Linked DNA regions of Homo sapiens: region 1 is linked to region 2. The links are contacts of gene promoters, found by promoter capture Hi-C in human tissues and cell types (Jung and others, 2019). All regions are on one chromosome and are shown on one strand. Each heading gives the region's core, a stretch centred on a gene start or on the middle of the fragment in contact. The rest is flanking DNA. Distances are from core to core; before and after follow the strand shown. Region 1 overlaps ALKBH5 (alkB homolog 5, RNA demethylase). Region 2 holds the start of SHMT1 (serine hydroxymethyltransferase 1).

Region 1 (6,461 bases), core at 991-3,490, 170 kb after region 2:
TTCAGGCTCAGCCTTAAGGAAGCACCTCTGATTTGGAAATCTGATTTGAGCTCATGCTGGGGATAGAACAAACCTTTATTTTATTTAATTTTTTTTTTTTTTGAGACAGTCTCACTCTGTCACCCAGGTTGGAGTGCAGTGGCACAATCTCGGCTCACTGCAACCTCTGCCTACCGGGTTCAAGCGATTCTCCTGCCTCAGCCTCCCAAGTAGCTGGGACTACAGGCGCACCCCACCACGCCTGTCTAATTTTTGTTATTTTCAGTAGAGATGGGGTTTCACTATGTTGGTCAGGATGGTCTTGAACTCCTGACCTCGTGATCCGCCAGCCTCGGCCTCCCAAAGTGCTGGGATTACAGGTGTGAGCCACCGCGCCCGGCCCAAACCTTTATTTTATAGATCCACCTTCTCCCTCAAGCTGCTCCTAGACAAGAATTTTTCAAAATTTTCTCCATGAACACCAGTCCCATAAGAGACAGTAGACAGGCTAGGCACGGTGGCTCACGCCTGTAATCCCACCCAGCACTTTGGGAGGCCAAGGTGGGCATGTTGCCTGAGGTTAGGAGTTCGTAACCAGTCTGGCCGACATGGTGAAACCCCGTCTCTACAAAAATACAAAAATAAGCCAGGCATGATGGCAGGTGCCTGTAATTCCAGCTATCGCAGAGGCTGAGGCAGGAGAATCGCTGAACCTGGGAGGTGGAGGTTGCCGTGAGCCGAGATAGTGCCACTGCACTCCAGCCTGGGTGACAGAGTGAGACTCCGTCTCAAAAAAAAAAAAAAAAAAAAAAAGAAAAAGACAGTGGACGAATGTCTACAGTGAAATCAATTTGTAAAATACTGATTAGAGTTTCAAAAAGCATTAATATATTTAAAGCACATGAGAATTACTACAGCAAAAGAACCCACTGACTTTGAGCACTTACCAAAGAACCTTCTCTCATAATACCTATTAATACCCATCAGCCCACAGTGAGAAGTACCACACAGGAGTTAGTGAGTTGAAGAGACCTGGGTTCAAATGTGAGCTTTGTCTCCTACTAGCTTTGTGACCTTTGTTAAATCACATGCTGAACCTAAAAACCTGTACAGTTTCTTCATCTGTAATAAGGAGAACAGTAGGTTCTTGGGTATTCATTTTGTTATGCTTTATAATTTAGCTATTCTTTTGCTGCTACTAATATTACAAGATTTTAAAAATGGGGACAGTTTTAAAGATTACAAGATTAAAGTTTTTAAGATTACAAGATTTTAAAAACGGGGCCTCCTCCCTTCCAGGCAGAAAAACAGCATTATATGACTACTTGGTTGACACTCCTGGAAAGGGGTGGTGAGAGGCCTACCTGCAGGGGTATTGCGAGAATTAAGTCAGATAATGCAGGGTGCCTGACACCCTACAATCTTTACTAAGCACTCTGACAAAAGTCAGAGGGCCCTGGACTATCCTGGGGCAAGCCAGAGCCCTGGATTCAGCATCTGCCAAAGAGACATGGTCTGGGCTCCCCCTGCAGGGATCTGCCAGTAGTGGGGGCCGCCTGGGCCCCATTTCCAGAGCTAGGAACTCTAGTTCTCATCCCATGCTTTTATCATTCCACACTGGGGGAATGGGGGTCTAGACTGCAAGACTGTCCCATATAGACACACAATACTTTCCCAAAGAGCTGTCAAAGGTCTCAAAGGCACTTTTTTTTTTTTTTAAAGACAGAGTCTCACTCTGTTGCCCAGGCTGGAGTGCAGTGGCATGATCTTGGCTCACTGTAACCTCCACGTCCCAGGTTCAAGCAATTCTCCTGCCTCAGACCCCCAAGTAACTGGGACTACAGGCTAATTTTTGTATGTTTAGTGAAGACTGTTTCCCCATGTTGGCCAGGCTGGTCTCGATCTCCTGATCACACGTGATCCACCCACCTCGGCCTCCCAAAGTGCTGGGATTACAAGTGTGAGCCACCATGCTCGGCCCCAGAGGCACGTTTCTAAGTCCTGAATCTGCAGTGCTGGCTACAGGCAACCTTCCCTGCCATTGACAAGTGTTATCAATCTGTTTGACTTGGCTATATGCATAACCAAGGGCCCTGACTTCCCATCTCCAACAAGGAACCACTTTTCTTAATGCAGTTCTGGAGCAAATCCAGATGTTTGTCAAAGCTTGACTGCCCGCATGCTCCCTGACCCCATCCCCCAAAGGGCTCTAGAACAAACAATAAGCCATGTCAGGTTCCTGCCACGGAGCCCAGGCCTTGGAAGAACTAGTATGGAGGTAGGGCTGCACAGGCCCACAAAAATGACTTTGGCACTGACCCAACCTGGAAGGCTTATTAGTACTGGTCTTCTAGAACTTCCTAGCAGCTATGACACAGCCCACTGACCCTTTCCTCAGAATATCCGGCTGCTCTGGCAACATGAGCTCAAAGTCCTGATTAAGGGAAGCTCTCCTGGCCAATCTCACAAAATGTCGAGCAGAGACCACAGGGTATTATTTACTATTAAGGAACCTACTTGCTACAAAATAAATTGTCTGAAAGTCTCAGTCGGCCAGCTTGCAACTTAATATGCCCTTGGGTCCAGCCCTACTGCTGGCATGAAAAGTTCCAGGACCTCCTGCTTTTTTGTTTTCACAGGGAAAGGAGAAGAGGAAATAACCTTATGCCATCTGGCTTGCCTGCTCCCTCTCTGGGCTGAGCCCCCAGCCCCAGCCCCAGAGGCACTGACCAGTATATGTTGCAAATGTCACCCACTAGTCCTATACCTCAGAGTGACTCTCGAAGGAGCTGACATGTCTATCTCCTCTTTTGGGGGCCTTTCCCTGACTGCCCAGGCTGGGTTCCCCCTACATTGCTCAACCACACCCTCTCATGCCTCTTTGCTATTCCATCTGGCCTTGTGGAAATTGTGTCTTCCCTTCAAGACAAAGCTCTTCAAAGGCCTTACTCATCCCTGCACAGTGGACACTAAATGAAATGTGTGTTGAGCTGAACTATTCTACCACTTAGAACCTGTTTCTGCCTCTGCAAAACAAAGATCACAGCAAGCCCCTCCTCAGAAGATTAGGTGCAAATTAAATGAGGTGTCTGAAATTTTTTTTTTTTTTTTTTTTTTCGGAAACAGAGTCCCACTCTGTTGCCTAGGCTGGAATGCAGTGGCGCAATCTTGGCTCACTGCAACCTCTAGCTCCTGGGTTCAAGCAATTCTCTGCCTCAGCCTCCCGAGTAGCTGGGATTACAGGTGCCTGCCACCACGCCCGGCTAATTTTTGTATTTTTAGTAGAGACGGGCTTTCACCATCTTGGCCATTCTTGTCTTGAATTCCTGACCTCAGGTGATCCACCCGCCCTGGCCTCCCAAAGTGCTGGGATTACAGGCATGAGCCACCGCACCTGGCCCTGAAAAATTCTTTAAAGAAACTATGCAGGACTGTACATCTCTCCTCTAGGGGACGGTCTTGGAAACTGAGTTGTTATGACACATTTCCAAGATGGCCACCATTTTCCATCTACTCCATGCCCTGCCTAGGCCAGGATGAACCAGAGATGGAGGGACTGTCCAAGATCCCAGCCTGGTGACTGTCTCTCTCCAGCTATGGCTACCTGCCTTACTGACAGACCCACAGGACCAAGAAGGTCAGGCTTTTGGGGGCAGCAGACCAGCCACCTGGACCCAGGGGCAGGATTGTGAGCTCAGGCTCAATTATTTACCAGACCCAAGCCTCCAAGACGACCCATGGCCTAACTTTATAAGAAGTCCTGGGGCTTTCTGAATCCAGAGGGAAGGTCAACCTGCCAAGTCCCAATTCTGTACACACCAAGATAGACAGTACTAAACACAGAAGGTAGCCCATCTCCTGAGACACTTTTAGCTAAATTTCAAGCATTCAATAGATGACAAAGATTCAACTTTCTATAACAACTCTATAGCATCATTAGACTGGTTTTGCAGATGAGGAAAACTGAGGCCTCAAAAAGCTTAATTTCCCCGAAGTCAACGAGTTAAAATGGTGGTGCTGTAACTCCAACCAAGTCTGCTGTCAAACTTTCTGGATTTTGTTGTGGAGGCGGTAGGAAGAAAAGCCCATCTGTGTTTCCTGGTAGCAAGCCTGTCCAGGGGGCCTTGCTGGCCTCACCAAAGGGCACACGTACACCCACTAGCCCCATGAAAGAGATTTGCAGAGATGAACCTATATCCCCCAGAGAGCTAGCACTGTATCAGTGAAGGCTATCCACCAACTGGCCAGCCAGCTCTGAATTTTCTTTTTCTTTTTTTTGAGACGGAGTCTTGCTCTGTCGCCCAGGCTGCCAGGCTGGAGTTCAGTGGCATGATCTCGGTTCACTGCAAGCTCCGCCTCCCGGGTTCGTGCCATTCTGCCGCCTCAGCATCCCAAGTAGCTGGGACTACAGGCGCCCGCCACCACACCCAGCTAATTTTGTTTTTTGTATTTTTAGTAGAGACAGGGTTTCACCATGCTAGCCAGGATGGTCTCGATGTCCTGACCTCGTGATCCACCCACCTCGGCCTCCCAAAGTGCTGGGATTACAGGCGTGAGCCACCGCGCCCGGCCTTGAAATTTTTTTTTTTATTATTTTTTTTGAGACGGAGTCTCACTCTACAGCACAGGCTGGAGCGCAAGGGCTCGATCTCGGCTCATTGCAACCTCCGCCTCCCGGGTTCAAGTGATTCTCCTGCCTCAGCCTCCTGAGTAGCTGGGATTAGAGGTGCACACTACCATGCCCGGCTAGTTTTTGTATTTTTAGTAGAGATGGGGTTTTACCATGTTGGCCAGGTTGGTCTCAAACTCCTGACCTCATGATCCGTCCACCTTGGCCACCCAAAGTTCTGGCATTACAGGCATGAGCCACTAAGCCTGGCCAGCTCTGAAATTTTTATGGCCTATTTATTCTCTGCTTGCTCTGAGCTTCATGATTAACACCATGGTTCACTGTTAGCTTCCTTTCTTTTACTGCCCTCTGCCTTGTCAGGCTCTGGCAGCAGCAAGGGCAGCCAACCCCCCTGGCCCAGAGCTCCTCCTGACGGTGCACAGCCCTGACTTCATCCTGTGGTTCCTCCCCCTCCAGTGGAATCAGAAGAGTCCACACAAGAGATGTGGCCCAGGACCTATCTGCCCTACTTTCCCAACTATTTTAAGCCAGAAAGCTAAATTTTGCTTTCAACCAGCTGAACAAGATCAGACTATCCCAGAACTGACAGGGGTGCCCACTCCACCCAATACCAACCGTTAACTGGAAGAGTCACAGGCTGAGCTCACCAGTGCATGCCCCGTGCCTGGGTGATACAGTCATTTCCAGACGGCTGGCCTAGGCCTGGGTCTCTGGGCATGTGGCCACCACACCACAGACCACGTAGCAGTGATTAAAGATAGCAGCAAGTAAGCAATTAGCCTTGAAGTAATTATTCTAATTAGTCCAATCAGAGTCTGTTTTAATCTGCCCCATGCAGCCAACAGGGAATAGGAGAATGAATGACAGATAAAGTGATATGAAGATAAAAAATATTTCCCTAAAGTACAGCCTTAAGAGGGGATCCACCCAGGCCTAACATGGGAAGGTTACAAAAAACAACTGACGACTAGGTTTGGAAAGGAGTTTGAAGCACTTCCAGAAGATTCTGTGAGGCCTTGTTCTAAATGCCCAGGTTTAGACACTGCTGAGTCAATGTTTGTGACGCACCAACATCCATGCTGATCACTATTAAATATAAAATTGTATTCTTGCCATGCGGTCTTAGAGGGGTACAGATACCATTGCCACCAACACCAACTGAAGTCTAAGATGCCTACTACTAGAATCCCTCCCCATCTGCACCGCACCACTGTTTTCACCAGCCCCTCCCTTCCAATCTGCAGCTTTACTGCTCATCACCTCTGGGCTAGGATCTGTACCAGGAAAAGAGAAAGCACCACTTCTTACCAGTTTATATGCAGGATTTGACGACGGGCACTACTAATAGGCAGGTGTTCACCCACCTGCATACCAAGGTAAGCTAAGTATGCAGGTGCAAGAAGATTTAATTAGTGGAAGGGTCCAGACCCTAGAGCAGTGACTCTCAACTAAGGATTCTGCACTTCCCCTGCCTCGGCATTTGGCAGTGTCTGGACACTTTCTGGTTGTCATAAAAAACACTATTGGCACCTAGCAGATAGAAGCCAGGAATGCTGCTGAACAGTCTACAATGCACGAACAGCCTCAACAATGAAGCATTATCAAGCCCTGAATAACAATAGCACTGTTGAGAAGCCCTGATCTAGAGTTCACCAGAGCACCCTCAACCACAGTCTCTACTAATGAACTCCATCTGCCTCCCATCAACATCCACCCCCTCTTACCTATGGCTACTCCTGCTACTGCAGCCAAAGACACTGCTGTTGTGTATTTCTCCACCTTTCTCTGCTTGGCTCATTCCTAGTCACTTTTCACATTCCAGTTCATTTCCTCCCCTAAACTTCCAACACTC
Region 2 (3,679 bases), core at 740-3,239:
GCTACTCGGGAGGCTGAGGCAGGAGAACGGCGTGAACCTGGGAGGTGGAGATTGCAGTGAGCGAAGATCGAGCCACTGCACTCATGCCTGGGCGACAGAGCGAGACTCCGTCTCAAACAAACAAACAAAAAGAACAATTAGCTGGGCATGGTGGTGCACGCCTGTAGTCCCAGCTACTCGGGAAGCCGATGCAGGAGAATTGCTTGAACCAGAGAGGCAGAGGTTGCAGGGAGCCAAGATCGCATCACTGCACTCCAGCCTGGGTGACAGAGCGAGACTCCATCTCAAATAAATAAATAAATAAAACAAAAACAAAAAACAAAAACACTCACTATGTTGGCCAGGCGCAGTGGCTCTTGCCTGTTATCCCAGCACTTTGGGAGGCCGAGGAGGATGGATCACTTGAGATCAGGAGTTCAAGACCAGCCTAGCCAATATGGTGAAACCCTATCTCTACTAAACATACAAAAATTAGCCGGGTGTGGTGGCTCACGCCTGTAATCCTAGCACTTTGGCAGGCTGAGGCAGGTGGATCACAAGGTCAGGAGATCAAGACCATCCTGGCTAACATGGTGAAACCCTGTCTCTACTGAAAATACAAAAAATTAGCCAGGCGTGGTGGTGGGCTCCTGTAGTCCCAGCTACTCGGGAGGCTGAGGCAGGAGAATGGCATGAACCCAGGAGGCAGAGCTCGCAGTGGGCCTAGATCGCGCCACAGCACTCCAGCCTGGGCAAGAGAGGGAGACTCCGTCTCAAAAATAAAAAAAAATTAGCCAGGCGTGGTGGCGGAGGCCTGTAGTCCCAGCTACTCAGGAGGCTGAAGCAGGAGAATGACGTGAACCCGGGAGGTGGAGCTTGCAGTGAGCCGAGATCGCGCCACTGCACTCCAGCCTGGGCGACAGAGCAAGACTCTGTCTCAAAAAAAAAAAAAAGTTTTTTTTGTATTTTTTGTTTGTTTGTTTTTCGAGATGATGAGGGTCTCACTCTGTTGCCCAGGCTGGAGTACAGAGGCAAGATCATTGCTTACTGCAACCTCTGCCTCCCAGGCTCAAGTGATCCTCCCATTCAGCCCCCCAAGTAGCTGGGACTACAGGCGACTGCCACCACACCCAGCTAATTTTAAAATTATTTGTAGAGACAAGGTTTCACCATTTTGCCCAGGCTGGTCTTGAACTCCTAGGCTCAAGCCATCTGCCTCGGCCTCCCAAAGTGCTGGAATTACAGGGGTGAGCCACTGCGCCCGGTTTTTATCATTCTTATAATAATTATTGTTATCATTTGACAAATAAAAAAATTTATGACGCAGCCTCAGGTGGTCCTGACATGTGGCCCCGGTTTTTATCATTCTTAACAATAGGTAATGTTCATTGAGTCCTTATTGTGTGTCAGTATTTTATTTATCTTATTTTATTCTTCTTGAGACGTTGTCTCGCTCCGTCCCCCAGGCTGGAGTGCAGTGGCGCGATCTCGACTCACTGCAACCTCCGCCTCCTGGGAGGCAACATAGTTAGACCCCCATCTCTACTTCAACCTGGGGGACAGAGTGAGACCCTGTCTCAAAAAAATAAAAATAAAAAATAACAAAAATAATAATAATAAAGTGTCTGCTCTTGGATTATACACCTACAGAGTAATAATGTTGCAGTTTGGACGCACATTTGTCCTACTTTAAATGACCACCCTGCAAACTAAAAGTAGTACCATGAACAAAATTCACTCATAATCCCACGGCCCAAGCGACAGGCTTAAGTGAGGAAGGCCCTGTGTAGTCTTCCTGGAAATCTTGGTCCACACACCAGCCCTGCAGCCAAAGCGGGTCAGTTCTGCAGGTCCCTGCCCCAGGTGCGCAGCTGCACTACGCGGCCTCCGGCCCGCCCCGGAGAAACAGGCCCTGCCCGCCGCTGCGCCGCAGCCAATAGCGCGGGTGCGTTTGGTGGCGGCCCATGCTTGGCTGCGCTCTCTGATTGGGCGCCTCCGGGGGCGGGGCCAAGCCCAAGCCTGGCGCGCAGAGTGCACCTTCCTGAGCTCGAGCGGTCCAGCGCCAAGTTCGGGGTTTGGGGTTGGAGCGGCTGGTCACGTGGCTGGCCCGCGGCGGTGCGCGGGGCGTTGGGTCAGCGGGTCTGGGACTGGTGGCACCGGCGGCGGCGTAGGACGGAGGCGTCGCTAGGTACGTGCGCGGGCCGTGTTCCGGTAGGTGGGCGGCTTCGGGTCCGAGGGCCGCGGCGTCCCAGAGCCCGGGGGGTGCTTCGGCGTCCTCGCTGTCCCCCGCCGTACCCCACCCTCTGCAGCCGCAATGACGGGAGGGGAGCGCTTGGGTCGCGCCTGGGCTGGGGATCGGGCGGCGGCCAGCCGCAGCGCCCCAGTTCCAGGCACATTCGGTATGATGGGGTGGCGGCCCGTGGCCTTTGGCAAGAATGCGAAGGCTTATCGGGGATGTGAGTAGTAGCTCTCCACTGAACACTTTTCTCGTTGAGCATTTTCGATTTAAACAATCCTAGCTCCTTCACAACAAAGCTGCAAGTCAAGTGCTACTGTTTCCCCCATTTTACAGGTGAGGAAGGTGGTGGGGCCCTGAGAAAGGAGGCAACTTAAATGGCAGAGCCCGGAATAGAACCCGGGTTCTCAAAGCCTGCGCCCCTAAAGGCTGCGCGCAGGGTCGCTCCACTTTTGGCCCGTGCCACCAGATCCCTGTGGGGAATGAGCTCTTCCTGTTGCCCGCAATCTGCCACCCCCTGTTCTAGGAGACAAATGTTGCACTGTGAAGTTCTTGGCCCGGTGCCTTGGCTTCGAGATTCCGGGAGTTAAGTGACCCTTGGTCCAGCTGAGGTCAGCACAGATGCGGGCCTTCAATCGGGCAGTTACCCAGAGAATAGACTGGAAACACCAGTTTAGGTTCTTGCAGAAATAACATTGTAGGCCGGGCGCGGTGGCTCATGCCTGTAATCCCAGCATTTTGGGAGGCCGAGGTGGGCGGATCACTTGAGGTTAGTAGTTGGAGACCAGCCTGGCCAACATGGTGAAACCCCGTCTGTACTAAAAATACAAAAAAACCTGGCTGCCCATGGTGGCACACACCTATAATCCCAGCTACTCGGAAGGCTGAGGCAGGAGAATCGCTTGAACCCGGGAGGTGGAGGTTGCAGTGAGCGGAGATCACGCCACTGCACTCCAGCCTGAGTGACAGAGTGAGACTCTATCTCAAAAGAAAGAAAGAGAGAGAAAGAAAAGAAAAAAAAGAAAAGAAATAACGTAAATTTATTACTTGGGGGAACTTGGAACGGAAGTGGGTAATTGTGTTTTTATTTAGTGCAATGTCCTGGGACAAGGCCTTGGAACTGAAGAGAAACCATTGTTCAGATTCTGGCTCTTATATGGCTTTAGACAAGTTAGCTCCCTGGGCCTCAATTTCCTCTTCTGTAAAGAAGAGAACACAAAATGTGTGTGAGATAGAAGATGTGCAACAAGTTAGTTCCCTGAGCAGATCCTTGGCTGGATCCTCTTATGTGACAGAGGCCCAGGTAAGATTTGGAGGCATGGGGAGGCTGGTGACCTTGCAGGTGACTTCACTTACTAGGTCTTTTTCCCTGACGTTGAGGATCATGCCACACATGAGCAACAGTGCCTCTACAGAAATATCCAATGTTGTAATGACTGATGTTGCAGTGAGCTGTGTTGGCTG

What was found. The method cuts DNA at HindIII sites, captures the fragments that hold promoters and counts their contacts. A contact is called where the count stands out against the background at its distance.
Region 1: a fragment that was not itself captured here is called in contact with the fragment with the promoter of SHMT1 in region 2 in 1 of the 25 tissues and cell types used here (heart left ventricle).

Annotation. Positions count from the first base shown.
Region 1 is chr17:18,187,186-18,193,646 of GRCh38, reverse strand. The region is part of intron 1 of ALKBH5 (alkB homolog 5, RNA demethylase); the gene reads right to left. Among named protein-coding and RNA genes, the nearest start is that of ALKBH5, 6.6 kb to the right of the region's middle. The HindIII fragment of the contact is 6,402 bases long and covers 1-5,441 here.
Region 2 is chr17:18,361,860-18,365,538 of GRCh38, reverse strand. SHMT1 (serine hydroxymethyltransferase 1) reads left to right here and starts at 1,989. Exons shown (of 12, transcript NM_004169.5): 1 at 1,989-2,167. RefSeq lists a silencer at 1,895-2,364. The HindIII fragment of the contact is 16,638 bases long and covers 1-3,679 here.